Regions from separate parts of the Homo sapiens genome. Here region 2 is linked to region 1. Evidence: promoter capture Hi-C in human tissues and cell types (Jung and others, 2019). All regions are on one chromosome and are shown on one strand. Each heading gives the region's core, a stretch centred on a gene start or on the middle of the fragment in contact. The rest is flanking DNA. Distances are from core to core; before and after follow the strand shown. Region 1 holds the start of ATF4 (activating transcription factor 4). Region 2 has its middle 65 kb from the start of TNRC6B-DT.

The links. Contacts are between HindIII fragments. The study calls those that stand out against the background at their distance.
Region 2: a contact is called between a fragment that was not itself captured here and the fragment with the promoter of ATF4 in region 1, in 1 of the 25 tissues and cell types used here (dorsolateral prefrontal cortex).

The regions. Positions count from the first base shown.
Region 1 is chr22:39,517,815-39,523,949 of GRCh38, forward strand. ATF4 (activating transcription factor 4) reads left to right here and starts at 2,748. Exons shown (of 3, transcript NM_182810.3): 1 at 2,748-2,937; 2 at 3,540-3,857; 3 at 3,959-4,869. The coding sequence starts at 3,632. The coding sequence ends at 4,788. It overlaps MIEF1 (mitochondrial elongation factor 1), which reads left to right. Exons shown (of 6, transcript NM_019008.6): 6 at 1-318. RefSeq lists a silencer at 2,086-2,285 and enhancers at 2,666-2,815, 3,176-3,225, 5,106-5,155, 5,232-5,733. The HindIII fragment of the contact is 4,198 bases long and covers 1-4,129 here.
Region 2 is chr22:40,106,871-40,113,005 of GRCh38, forward strand. It overlaps a transcript of TNRC6B not described here and the pseudogene RPL7P52. Among named protein-coding and RNA genes, the nearest start is that of TNRC6B-DT, 65 kb to the left of the region's middle. The HindIII fragment of the contact is 4,499 bases long and covers 544-5,042 here.

The sequences.
Region 1 (6,135 bases), core at 1,498-3,997:
AAATGCACAGTAGGTGTTTACCTTTACATTTGGATCACCTTGTAGTCTTTAAATTCTTGGTCCCTGAGGCCAAGTCCACAACTTGCCTTCTAGTCACTTGCCTGCCCGCAGTGGTGGTGGATGTGTTAGCTGGTAGATTTGGAATCAGTCACCAGTCTTTCTGTACTGTCTTGGTTAGCTCTATATAAGTAGGGGCAGCTTAGCCCTGAGGCCCAGAGACCTGCTGTCCTTTTTCTCCTTGAGGGAGGAAATAAAACTGCGGAATACAATGTCCTTCCATAGCATGGGAAGAAGAAAATAAACATCTCCTTTCCAACAGCTGTGACTTGTGTGTGTCGTATAGAACATTTTCCTGTGGGAGTGGTACTGGGTCTCCATTTTCAGCTAGGGGAACCTTTGAAGTGTTTGAGCTAGGTCTCTATAAAAGAATGGATGGGACAGGCTGCCATGGGAGTCATTCTTTTATGACCTTTTCAGTGTCAAAATTGGGGCAGTGTTACTTTAATACTCAACCATTTGCACAGTCATCTGTCAGGAGGTACTGTCTATAGCAAAAGGAGAACACGTCCTGTGGGTCCCTAGTTCTGCCTTTGGAAGACATGGCTAATGGCTCAGGTATTCTTACTGCCTTTGCATGGAAAGGCTAGAAAACTCCTGTATTTTTTTTTTTTTTAAAGACAGGGTCTTGCTCTGTTGCCCAGGCTGAGTTGCAGTGTTGTGATCACAGCTCACTGCAGCTTGGAATTCCTGGGCTCAAGCAATCCTCCCACCTCGGCTTGAGTAGGTGGGGCTACAGGCTGGAGCCACTGCTCCTGGCGCCAACTTCTGTATATCTCAACACTCACGATTCCCCAAGGAGAAAGAAAAAACATACTTTTATTCCAGCATCCAGTATGCCTTGTGTATACCAGTTTTAAAGTTGTTGGTTTCATCTCATTAAATAATAATGAAGAGTCCTCTGAGGCAGCAGGAGGATGTGATGGAGAGTGGCAGAAGTCAGGGTCAGGAGACCTGAGTTCTATGAACAGTGGCAGCAACAGCAACCATTATTGGGCGCTTACATGTACCAGGCAGGCACTGTGCTAAGTGCTTTACATGTATGATCTCACTTCATGAGGCAAGGATACTCATCAGTAGTCTCATTTTACAAATGAGGAAACTGAGGCTCAGAGAGTATAAGTCATTTAGCCAAAATGTCCCAGCCAGGATTCTTTTGGATGCGCTCCCCAAAATCTGTCTTCTAACTCCTACCCCATACTCCCTCCACTGGGAGCCTTGTGACTTTGAGCAAGAAGCTTCATCCCATTGGGCCTCGGTTTACCATTGGAAAGGATTTGTGGGCGAGGTTGAATGAGCGCAGCAGATGGCCTGTGGTTATTTAGAGCAGTGCTTCCCTGGTTGTTTGATATCACAGCGCTCATACTTGTGTGGCCCAGTGAAATGGAGGCGGAAACTCAAAGTTTCCACCTTCACAGGGCCTGACTGGAAGGGGCTGAAGGATGATGGGGAGGTTTCTTGTATTCTTAAAACAGACTACCCCTTCCCAACGCACAACCCCCAGTAAGTGGCCGTGGGTTCCCAAGCGCCTCTCCTCCCTGGGCCATGGGCGTGACTGCTGAAAAGCGGGTTAGGCCGGGGAGTTCAGAATCCGGAGTGAATCCGAACTACCCCAGGGAGACGGCAGCGAAGAAAATCTTGTTCTTAGGAGAACGCAATCTTCGGACACCAGAAGTTCCTCTATGATGCTATTCTGTGGCAGCCTTGCACTTGAGCCGGATGAAAATTGTAAAAACCCAGGTTGGGCGACAGGACGGCGCGTCTTCCCGGCTCCTTTCCAGAGTTTAGGAGGAGCCATGCAGACTCAGCCGGCCTTTGGGGGTAGGTGGACAGGCCCGGCGCGCCCTCTCGAGGCCCCTTCAACCTCCCGGGGGCAGCAGCGCCGTGTCGGCTATGAATGGGGCCTCTGGAAAACTCAGGCTTGGAACAGGTAACCCCCCGGTTTCCGCAGGCCACAAATCACCACCCGCAACCGAAGGACGCGCAGGCTGGGAGCGGCGGCGGGGCCACCAGTGCGGACCTCCACTGAGGGCGGCGGGATCCGACCGCAAGGGCTGGTCCCTGAGGCCACTAAGGGGTGCGCTGGGCTAAGGCCGCCTGGGGGCAGGAGCCAGCGCGATCGTGGCGGGCCAGCAGGCGGGGCTGGCTGAGGACTAGCAGCGACCCGAGACCCCAACCCTTCCCACGCGGACCCCGGGATCCCTCTCCCAGCAGCCGCCCATCTAGGGCCCTGAGCCAATAAGAGCTCGAGATATATATGATTCACCGGGCCTGGGCCAATCACCTTGACGCGCGCTCTTCGCCAGCACCTCGCGCGATAACCTGGCGTCCTCGGCCTTCACAATAAAAACTCTTCGCCGGAAAACGACCTTTCCCCGCCCACTGCGCTGACACCGGAAGCGAGGCGTGTCTGGGAGATCACTCCGCGCTCCGGCGGCGAAGGAAAGAACGGACTCTGATCATAGAAGCCTAGTAAAGTAGTACACCTCTCTCCTTTCGTGAGGCCATAAGAACAAACTCCTTTTCTCGTCACAGCTACGCCCTGGGCATAAACGGTTGGGGCGTCAAAGGGAGGGAGGGAAGGGAGCGGGCGGGAGGAGACGGTCACGTGGTCGCGGCGGAAGGATGCGTCTGTGCTGCGTCCCCATAGAGACGAAGTCTATAAAGGGCCGGCGGGCGGCCACGGCAGCCATTTCTACTTTGCCCGCCCACAGATGTAGTTTTCTCTGCGCGTGTGCGTTTTCCCTCCTCCCCGCCCTCAGGGTCCACGGCCACCATGGCGTATTAGGGGCAGCAGTGCCTGCGGCAGCATTGGCCTTTGCAGCGGCGGCAGCAGCACCAGGCTCTGCAGCGGCAACCCCCAGCGGCTTAAGCCATGGCGTGAGTACCGGGGCGGGTCGTCCAGCTGTGCTCCTGGGGCCGGCGCGGGTTTTGGATTGGTGGGGTGCGGCCTGGGGCCAGGGCGGTGCCGCCAAGGGGGAAGCGATTTAACGAGCGCCCGGGACGCGTGGTCTTTGCTTGGGTGTCCCCGAGACGCTCGCGTGCCTGGGATCGGGAAAGCGTAGTCGGGTGCCCGGACTGCTTCCCCAGGAGCCCTACAGCCCTCGGACCCCGAGCCCCGCAAGGGTCCCAGGGGTCTTGGCTGTTGCCCCACGAAACGTGGCAGGAACCAAGATGGCGGCGGCAGGGCGGCGGCGCGGGCGTGAGTCAAGGGCGGGCGGTGGGCGGGGCGCGGCCGCCCTGGCCGTATTTGGACGTGGGGACGGAGCGCTTTCCTCTTGGCGGCCGGTGGAAGAATCCCCTGGTCTCCGTGAGCGTCCATTTTGTGGAACCTGAGTTGCAAGCAGGGAGGGGCAAATACAACTGCCCTGTTCCCGATTCTCTAGATGGCCGATCTAGAGAAGTCCCGCCTCATAAGTGGAAGGATGAAATTCTCAGAACAGCTAACCTCTAATGGGAGTTGGCTTCTGATTCTCATTCAGGCTTCTCACGGCATTCAGCAGCAGCGTTGCTGTAACCGACAAAGACACCTTCGAATTAAGCACATTCCTCGATTCCAGCAAAGCACCGCAACATGACCGAAATGAGCTTCCTGAGCAGCGAGGTGTTGGTGGGGGACTTGATGTCCCCCTTCGACCAGTCGGGTTTGGGGGCTGAAGAAAGCCTAGGTCTCTTAGATGATTACCTGGAGGTGGCCAAGCACTTCAAACCTCATGGGTTCTCCAGCGACAAGGCTAAGGCGGGCTCCTCCGAATGGCTGGCTGTGGATGGGTTGGTCAGTCCCTCCAACAACAGCAAGGGTGAGTGGGCCACCACCACATCGTCCTGGTGGGATCTAGGGTTAGGGGCCTCCTACCTTTGTATCTGACTCACTTGGCCCCATCACTCAAATGTTTTGCAGAGGATGCCTTCTCCGGGACAGATTGGATGTTGGAGAAAATGGATTTGAAGGAGTTCGACTTGGATGCCCTGTTGGGTATAGATGACCTGGAAACCATGCCAGATGACCTTCTGACCACGTTGGATGACACTTGTGATCTCTTTGCCCCCCTAGTCCAGGAGACTAATAAGCAGCCCCCCCAGACGGTGAACCCAATTGGCCATCTCCCAGAAAGTTTAACAAAACCCGACCAGGTTGCCCCCTTCACCTTCTTACAACCTCTTCCCCTTTCCCCAGGGGTCCTGTCCTCCACTCCAGATCATTCCTTTAGTTTAGAGCTGGGCAGTGAAGTGGATATCACTGAAGGAGATAGGAAGCCAGACTACACTGCTTACGTTGCCATGATCCCTCAGTGCATAAAGGAGGAAGACACCCCTTCAGATAATGATAGTGGCATCTGTATGAGCCCAGAGTCCTATCTGGGGTCTCCTCAGCACAGCCCCTCTACCAGGGGCTCTCCAAATAGGAGCCTCCCATCTCCAGGTGTTCTCTGTGGGTCTGCCCGTCCCAAACCTTACGATCCTCCTGGAGAGAAGATGGTAGCAGCAAAAGTAAAGGGTGAGAAACTGGATAAGAAGCTGAAAAAAATGGAGCAAAACAAGACAGCAGCCACTAGGTACCGCCAGAAGAAGAGGGCGGAGCAGGAGGCTCTTACTGGTGAGTGCAAAGAGCTGGAAAAGAAGAACGAGGCTCTAAAAGAGAGGGCGGATTCCCTGGCCAAGGAGATCCAGTACCTGAAAGATTTGATAGAAGAGGTCCGCAAGGCAAGGGGGAAGAAAAGGGTCCCCTAGTTGAGGATAGTCAGGAGCGTCAATGTGCTTGTACATAGAGTGCTGTAGCTGTGTGTTCCAATAAATTATTTTGTAGGGAAAGTACTTGTGCGTTTGAATTCCTTTCCTGGCAAAGTAACCGAGTGAAGCGCCACCCACCCACCCCAAGCTGGTCTTAACATTTCCTGTGAGATCTGGGGGAGGAGGCAGTCCAAGGCTGAAGATCGGTTCCCAGAGTGGGATTTGCTCATCCCTGCTCGGTGTAGGCCACGATGGCTGATTCATGGGGCCCTGGAGCCGTATAGTTGGCCATTTATAGTAAGCTGGGTCCTTTGCCCAGAGCTGAGTGCTGGTTGTGTAGGGGGAGGAGGCTGGAGATCTCTGGGAGATTCAGAGGGAGGGACAGCCTGGGCCTCCACCTGTTTATTCAAGAGGGCTTCATGCCAACAGCTGTCGCATAAAACCCTGAATAAGGTTGCACGGTCTTTGAGATAGCACACAAGATTAGGTTTCACTTGTTACCTGAACAGTTCTGCAGAAGCCTCATCCTGAAGAAAGAAATGGCTCCTTTTGGGAATTGATGCTGAAACAGGACAGGAGCTGAGGGTTGGCCTCCGTTTCTCCTTACGGGGTGGAAGGATGACAGCCTGCGCAGGTTCTGGCTAGAGCTGGGCACAAAGGCAGGCAACAGTTCCTGTGAAGGCTGTTGTGCCTGCTGCTATCTAAACTAGGAGGCCTGACGGCCTCGGGACATGTTAGGATGGATCAGTGCTTAGAAGCCACACCTCACTGCAGCTTCGGACTTCTGGCGGGGCGACTTCGCCTTTCCAGGCAGGCGATGTCTTTTGTCCTGTGTTGCGGATGAATGCTTGAATGCAAAGATCAGCGCAGCCCGGGTAGGTCTGCCCTTCCTCTTGTGTCCTTCGGGATTAGCCTCGTTTTCCGTCTGTGGAAGGTGGTGTAGACCGGGTGTGCCTGGGGAATGGCTGGGAGGAGAGTGAGAGTGAGTGCAGCCCAGGCACTGCTGTAACTGAGCACAGCACATGTGTTCTTTCACCCAGTCCCCGCAGCACACCCGTGAGGCAGACGCCACACCCAGGAGGAATTTTTTTTTTTTGAGATGGAGTCTGGCTCTGTCGCCCAGGCTGGAGTGCAGTGGCGCGATCGCGGCTCACTGCAAGCTCCGCTTCCCGGGTTCACGCCATTCTCCTGCCTCAGCCTGCCGGGTAGCTGGGACTACAGGCGCCTGCCACCACGCCCAGCTAATTATTTTTGTATTTTTAGTAGAGAGGGGGTTTCACCGTGTTAGCCAGGATGGTCTTGATCTCCATCTCCTGACTTCGTGATCCGCCCGCCTCGGCCTCCCAA
Region 2 (6,135 bases), core at 1,543-4,042, 590 kb after region 1:
TCCATCTGCCTATGTTCCTTGTGACAGTGCTTCGCTTTTTCATGGATAAACTTCCTCCTTGCCCTTTGAAGCATCTTTTGGGCAAACTTCTTTCTCAGGCGCTTGATCTTCAGCTCTGCAAAATTCCTTCACTTTTTTCTTAAGGATTTCTGGCACAGCAGGAACCTTCTTCTTCTTCTTTTCTACACCCTCCGTGGTTCCAGCCGGAAAAAGAGGGAGGGTATCTTTTGATGAACAAATACTCTTAATTTTCATGTAGTCATGTTTGTCAGGTTTTTAATACTAGGTACTTTTTGTATCCTATTTAAGAAATCCTTCCCTACCCCTAGGCTATGAAGCATTTTCCCATATTATCTTCTAAAAGCTTTATTATTTATCTTTCACATTTGAGTATACAGTTCACCTGGAATTTGATTTTTGTGTATGGCAATTCTTAGCTAACTTATTAGTACTCCTCTGCCTTTAAAAATTTTTAAATATTCTATCCAGACTTTCTGGCTGTCCTCAGCAGAATGGTTGGTCTTCATTACCTGGTTTACCATTCCCAGAAGCAGAAATGTCTTTTAAAGTTTCAGTTTCACTTTGACTTAAAAATGATCTGTCCCGTCTTGTTAAGGGGCCTTAATGAATATGTTTACTAAAAAATAAAAAAAGACTGAAAAACTATATAGATTCATGACTGTTTCTATTTTTTATTTTTATTTTAAGAGACCAAAAAGAAGCTTCTGTTTCCTCTCTGCTTCTGTCAGCTATAAAATACTGTTAGACAAATTTAAGCTCGCTACATAAAATGAACATGGTTATACTTATTGCAGGATAATTTCAGAACATTAATCACAGGAAAAAATTAAATTAAAAAATACACACTATCCAACATTGACTTTGATAATAAAATGGCTTTAACTAAGGCAGTGGCTACCCCCCTTTCTCTGTTTATCCATAAATTTAAACCTCTTTTTTGGCCAGAGATGGACTGTATGCAAACCGCATCCAGAATGCTTTTAGTTTGTGCCACAAAATATGAAGAAAATGTTTTCAGTTTATGGCAACTAGATCCATGACATATGATGCTCCAGGAACTGTTTTTACAGTGCGCAAGATGCACAGGAACAGAATAGCAAACTCACATGATTGTTGGCAAGGAAAACCTGGCTACGTGGCTGATGTTAAATTTGCTTTTTAAGACAGCCAGATCAAGAAATGTCTGAAGACTTTGAGACTGCAGCAGGGAGATGATTTTGCAGTTAGTAAACACAGCCCTGGGAAGCCATGGCAAGGCAGTTCTGGTAAGCCATTTACAGCTTCTCTTCTAGCAGGAGAGCACAGTGGAGGCTCTGGAGAGGAAAACCTGACGTGGCCTCTAGAGAATGTTGCCCAGGGCAGTAGAGCCTCCCTGGTGGCACTGCTGTCAGCACCACCCTGCACAGCCCGGCAGAACCCTGCCTTGCCCTGGCCATCTCTGTCTCTGAGATTCACCACGGAGGTTAGCTTGGTTATAGGTGAGCTGTTAAGAGTAGGGGTTTGTGTTCTTGGAAGTTAGGGCTTAGGAGCCACACATTTCCTTCTTGCCCAGCTCTTGCTTGCTTAGACCATTTTCTTTATCTTTTTCAATGAACACTTGTCAAAGTGTGCTCCTTCCTCCCATCCAAGACCCTTTCAGAAGGTCACAACTATTTTAATAATACTAAGATGCTGTATGCCTTTTAAATTCATTCTCCCATGAGTGCACATTGGAGTTTTTCCAGACATGTGATACTGCAAAAGATTGAATGCAAAAGTATATATTTGGGTGCAGCTGTTGTTGCTCAAGCTAGACATTAAAGAAATTTGCAAAGATGTAAAACAGTGCCACTGTCCTCAAATTTTTAATCCTTTGAAATACCATTTTTAATTTAAAAAGCAATAGTTTATTATTTCTAAGTTTCAGGGTACATGTGCAGGATGTGCAGGTTTGTTACATAGGTAAACATGTGCCATGGTGGTTTGCTGCACTGTGAACCCATCACCTAAATATTAAGCCCAGCATACATTAGCTATTTTTCCTGATGTCTCCCTCCCCCCGCCACCCACCCCCAGCCAACAGGCCCAGTGTGTGTTGCTCCCCTCCCTGTGTCCATGTGTTCTCATTGTTCAGCTCCTAATTATGAGTGAGAATATGCAGTGTTTGATTTTCTGTTCCTGCATTAGTTTGCTGAGGATAATGGCTTCCAGCTGCATCCGTGTTCCTGCGAAGCACATGATCTCATTCCTCTTTATGGCTGCATAGTATTCCATGATGTATATGTACCACATTTTCTTTATCCAGTCTATCATTGATGGGCCTTTGGGTTGATTCCATGTCTTTGCTGTTGTGAATAGTGCTGCAGTGAACATACGCGTGTATGTATCTTTATAATAGAATGATTTATATTCCTTTGGGTATATACCCAGTAATGGGATTGCTGGGTCAAATGGTATTTCTGGTTCTAGGTCATTGAGGAATCACCACACTGTCTTCCACAATGGTTGAACTCATTTACATTCCCACCAACAGCGTAAAAGCGTTCTTATCTCTCTGCAGCCTTGCCAGCATCTGTTGTTTCTTGACTTTTTAATATAAAATCACCGTTCTGACTTGCATGAGATGGCATCTCATTGTGGTTTTTCATTTCTCTAATGATCAGTGATAGTGAGCTTTTTTAAGTTTGTTGGCCGAATAAATGAACTAATACTTCTGATGTTTCATAGTTATAATTTTTAGTATGGCAAATATTGATAATTAAAATTAAGATAAACAAGAGCTCTTTGAGGTCCTCCATAATTTTCGTAAGTGTAAAGGGATCCTGAGACAAAAGGGTTTGAGAATCACCTGCTTCAAATCCTGTCAGTTCCAGCTGGAATCCCAGTTTCTCTCTGAAGGCGGCACAGGTTATCTAGCTCACCGTTTTCTCTACGTTCTCTAAACTTCTGTGCCACTCAGCTTAGCGCTTAGCTTTTTTCTCCTTATATTTAGTGTAAGGCCCCTGAAAAAGGGGATCAGATCTGAAATGAGAGATTTTTAGACTTCCAAGGTACACAGTGCGGGGCACAGCATAAACAATTGTTAATGATTATTCATATTACTATCATCATTATCAATGTTCAACTCACTGGTTAATTGGAGAAGCAGTATACATCTAAAATTTGTGAACAATCTCACCTCATAAAATCAATATGCAATATAGAAAAAGAACAAAGGTTTTTCTTTAATCACCAATAAATTGGTCACAAAAGTTAACATGTTAATCTGCTTAATTATTTCTTTTAATTTTAATTTTTAATGTAAATTGCCAAATTATAATTGCATATACTTATGGGGTACAAAGTGATATTGTGATTTATGAATATAATATGGAATGATTAAGTCAACCCAGTTAACATATTTATTACCTCTAATCTGCTTAATTCTTATGTGACCAACAATTGCAATAAAACCTGGACATAGGCCCTTGCTCTGAAAACTTGCTGAGCACAGTGCCATGTACTTAGTAAGCATTCAGTAAAGCTGGTTGAGTTGAATCTGCTGTTTCAGTAGCTGCCTCTGCTGTTCTTGTAACCCTCGGTGAATTCCCTACCATCCCTGCCTCTACCTGTAAGTGATTTGCAGTTGTTTTAGGCTTTTAGAAGGCAGTCTTACTTTCTCAAGCCTTTTCTGTTAAAGAATTGACAGATTATTCTGGGGCCAGGCTGGAGGGCATAAATTAGTTGAGCAAGCTGGATTAATACCCCAAGGTTGGGTATGAGTCTTTCTGGTCATTCCTACTTTGGACTGAGTTTGTTTTTCTTAGGCAACCTTTCCTGACTTCCAAGACATAAAAATCAGATTAACATTCTTGTGCCAGGGTCCTACCATCAGTCCCAAAGTTTCCTTCACTGCTTCTCCCAGGAAGTCTGGGGATGCTGTGCAAGTAGTACACTGCCCTCATAGACTGTTACAGCTGATAAGCCCCAGCTTTGTTTTTGTAAGCTCAGAATGTCATATTGTATTGAGTTGATTTTAGTTTTTTCATAAAAATGTGTGTGTTTATTCCACAATAATTTATTGGGAACGTCCTTTGTGCTGGCACTATATTGAATGACAGTGATAAGGAAGCCTTAGACCGGGAAGCTTACCACCTCCTAGTGTACACACACATAAGCAAGCCTAGTGTGTGTTCTGAGTGCAGTTGCTCACCAGGGGAAGGATCCGTCCAGATCACCTGTGAGAAGAGGGAGTCAGGAAAGACTTCACAGAACAGGTTTCCCTAAGCCTGCATCTTGAAAGTTGGGAAGAAATTTGTCCTGTCCGTGGGAAGGCAGTCCAGGTGCAAACAGCACGTTCAACGGCACGCGAAACCACGTGGTGCTCAAGGGAAATGGAAAACAATTGGGCTTTGGAGGCGAAGGCAGTGGGGCGAGCAGGGACCGGGGTGAGCAGGGACCAGGCCTCGCCGACCGCAGTGGGAATGGGGTTTTATCTACAGGGTGGTTGAGGCACATTGCAAAGGCAGTAAGGATTTCTACTTTTTAAAGGTAATTCTAGTGGTGTAGGGGAGGGGTGGGTCTTGAGGGTAGGAAAACCAGTTGAAAAGATAACTAGCTTAAGAGTGGTGAGAAGCTATGCCAGAAGCAGGGCAGTCAGTGGCAGTAGGAATAAGGAAGTATATACTAGAATAGTTGGGAATTAGAACTGACAGTTTGGTGAGAGGAAGGAACTGCTGATGTTCACAGACTTCTGATTTGAGTGGGATGGCAGTATTCCCAAGTGAGGCAGAAGAACACGCTTTGGGGGAGGGTTGTTTTATTTTAGGGCCCTGTGGCACCTGAGGTGGAGCTGCATCAGGCAGTTATGTAGATAGTTCTAAAGACTGTAAGAAAGGTCAGCACTAGAGAAAGACTTGGGAGTCATCAAGATCCAGGGGGAAGCTGTATCTATGAGAAAGCATAAGACCAGGCTGGGCGCAGTGGCTCACACCTGTAATCCCAGCACTTTGGGAGGCCGAGGCGGGTGGATCACGAGGTCAGGAGTTCAAGGCCAGCCTGGCCAAGATGGTAAAACCCCAACTCTACTAAAAATACAAAAATTAGCTGAGTGCGGTGGCAGGCGCCTGTAATTCCAGCTACTTGGGAGGCTGAGGCAGGAGAATTGCTTGAACCCAGCGGCAGAGGTTGTAGTGAACCAAGATCGCGCCACTGCACTCCAGCCTGGGCAACAGAGTGAGACTCCCTCTCAAAAAAGAGAAAGCAAAAGGATGGGTGTGTAATAAAAAGAGAAAGGGAGGTGTGGACTCCGGAGGAGGAATACACCAGTAATGAAAGGACAGGGAGAAAAAAAACTGTCCTGTGAAACAGACTGGAAAGAAACAGACCAAGAGGTAGCAAAAGTACTGCCGTGGGCCCTTCCAGGGGGGTGGGTGAAGGGACTAAACCTGCTCCATGTCAGATTGGGCATCAGAACTGAGTTCAATCCGTGAAGCCAAGAGTTGAGTTTGGTTCCCTCTCCATGACCCTGTCCCCCAGTCTGCCATGTACAGCAGCAGCTGAAGCAGCAGCTTTTCACCGTCTCACCCACCCCAAACCCTGCCCATGATAAGAAGGCTGGTTGCAGACCCAAGGGAACAGGAGGACCCGACACAGCCTGGATACCAGGAACTAAAACAGGATGCCCCTGGCCCAGTGGCTGGATCTTCAGTATCCTTACTCTTAAGACAGGAAAGGAGCTCCCAAATGACAGGTTTCAGGTGGTTCTGCTTCGGATTTTTATTTATTTATTTTGTGTTTATTTTTAGACAATGGTTCTGACTTTTAAATGCTAGAGAAAGATTAAAGGAAGAACAGTTGAATAGTATCTGTTGCATTGACACTGAGATTGATAGGGACAGAAATCAAGTTGTGATGATTAATAAGTGAATGAGAAATTAGTATGTTGAGACCACAAATATAAACTGCTTTTTCTAGAAGCTTGACTAGGCCAGGTGCAGTGTTTCACGCCTATAATTCCAGCACTTTGGGAGGCCAAAGAGGGTTGATCACTTGAGGTCAGGAGTTCAAGACAAGCCTGGTCAACATGGTGAAACCCCGACTAAAAATAGAGCCAGGCATGGTGGCACACACCTGTAATCCCAGTTACTCAGGAGG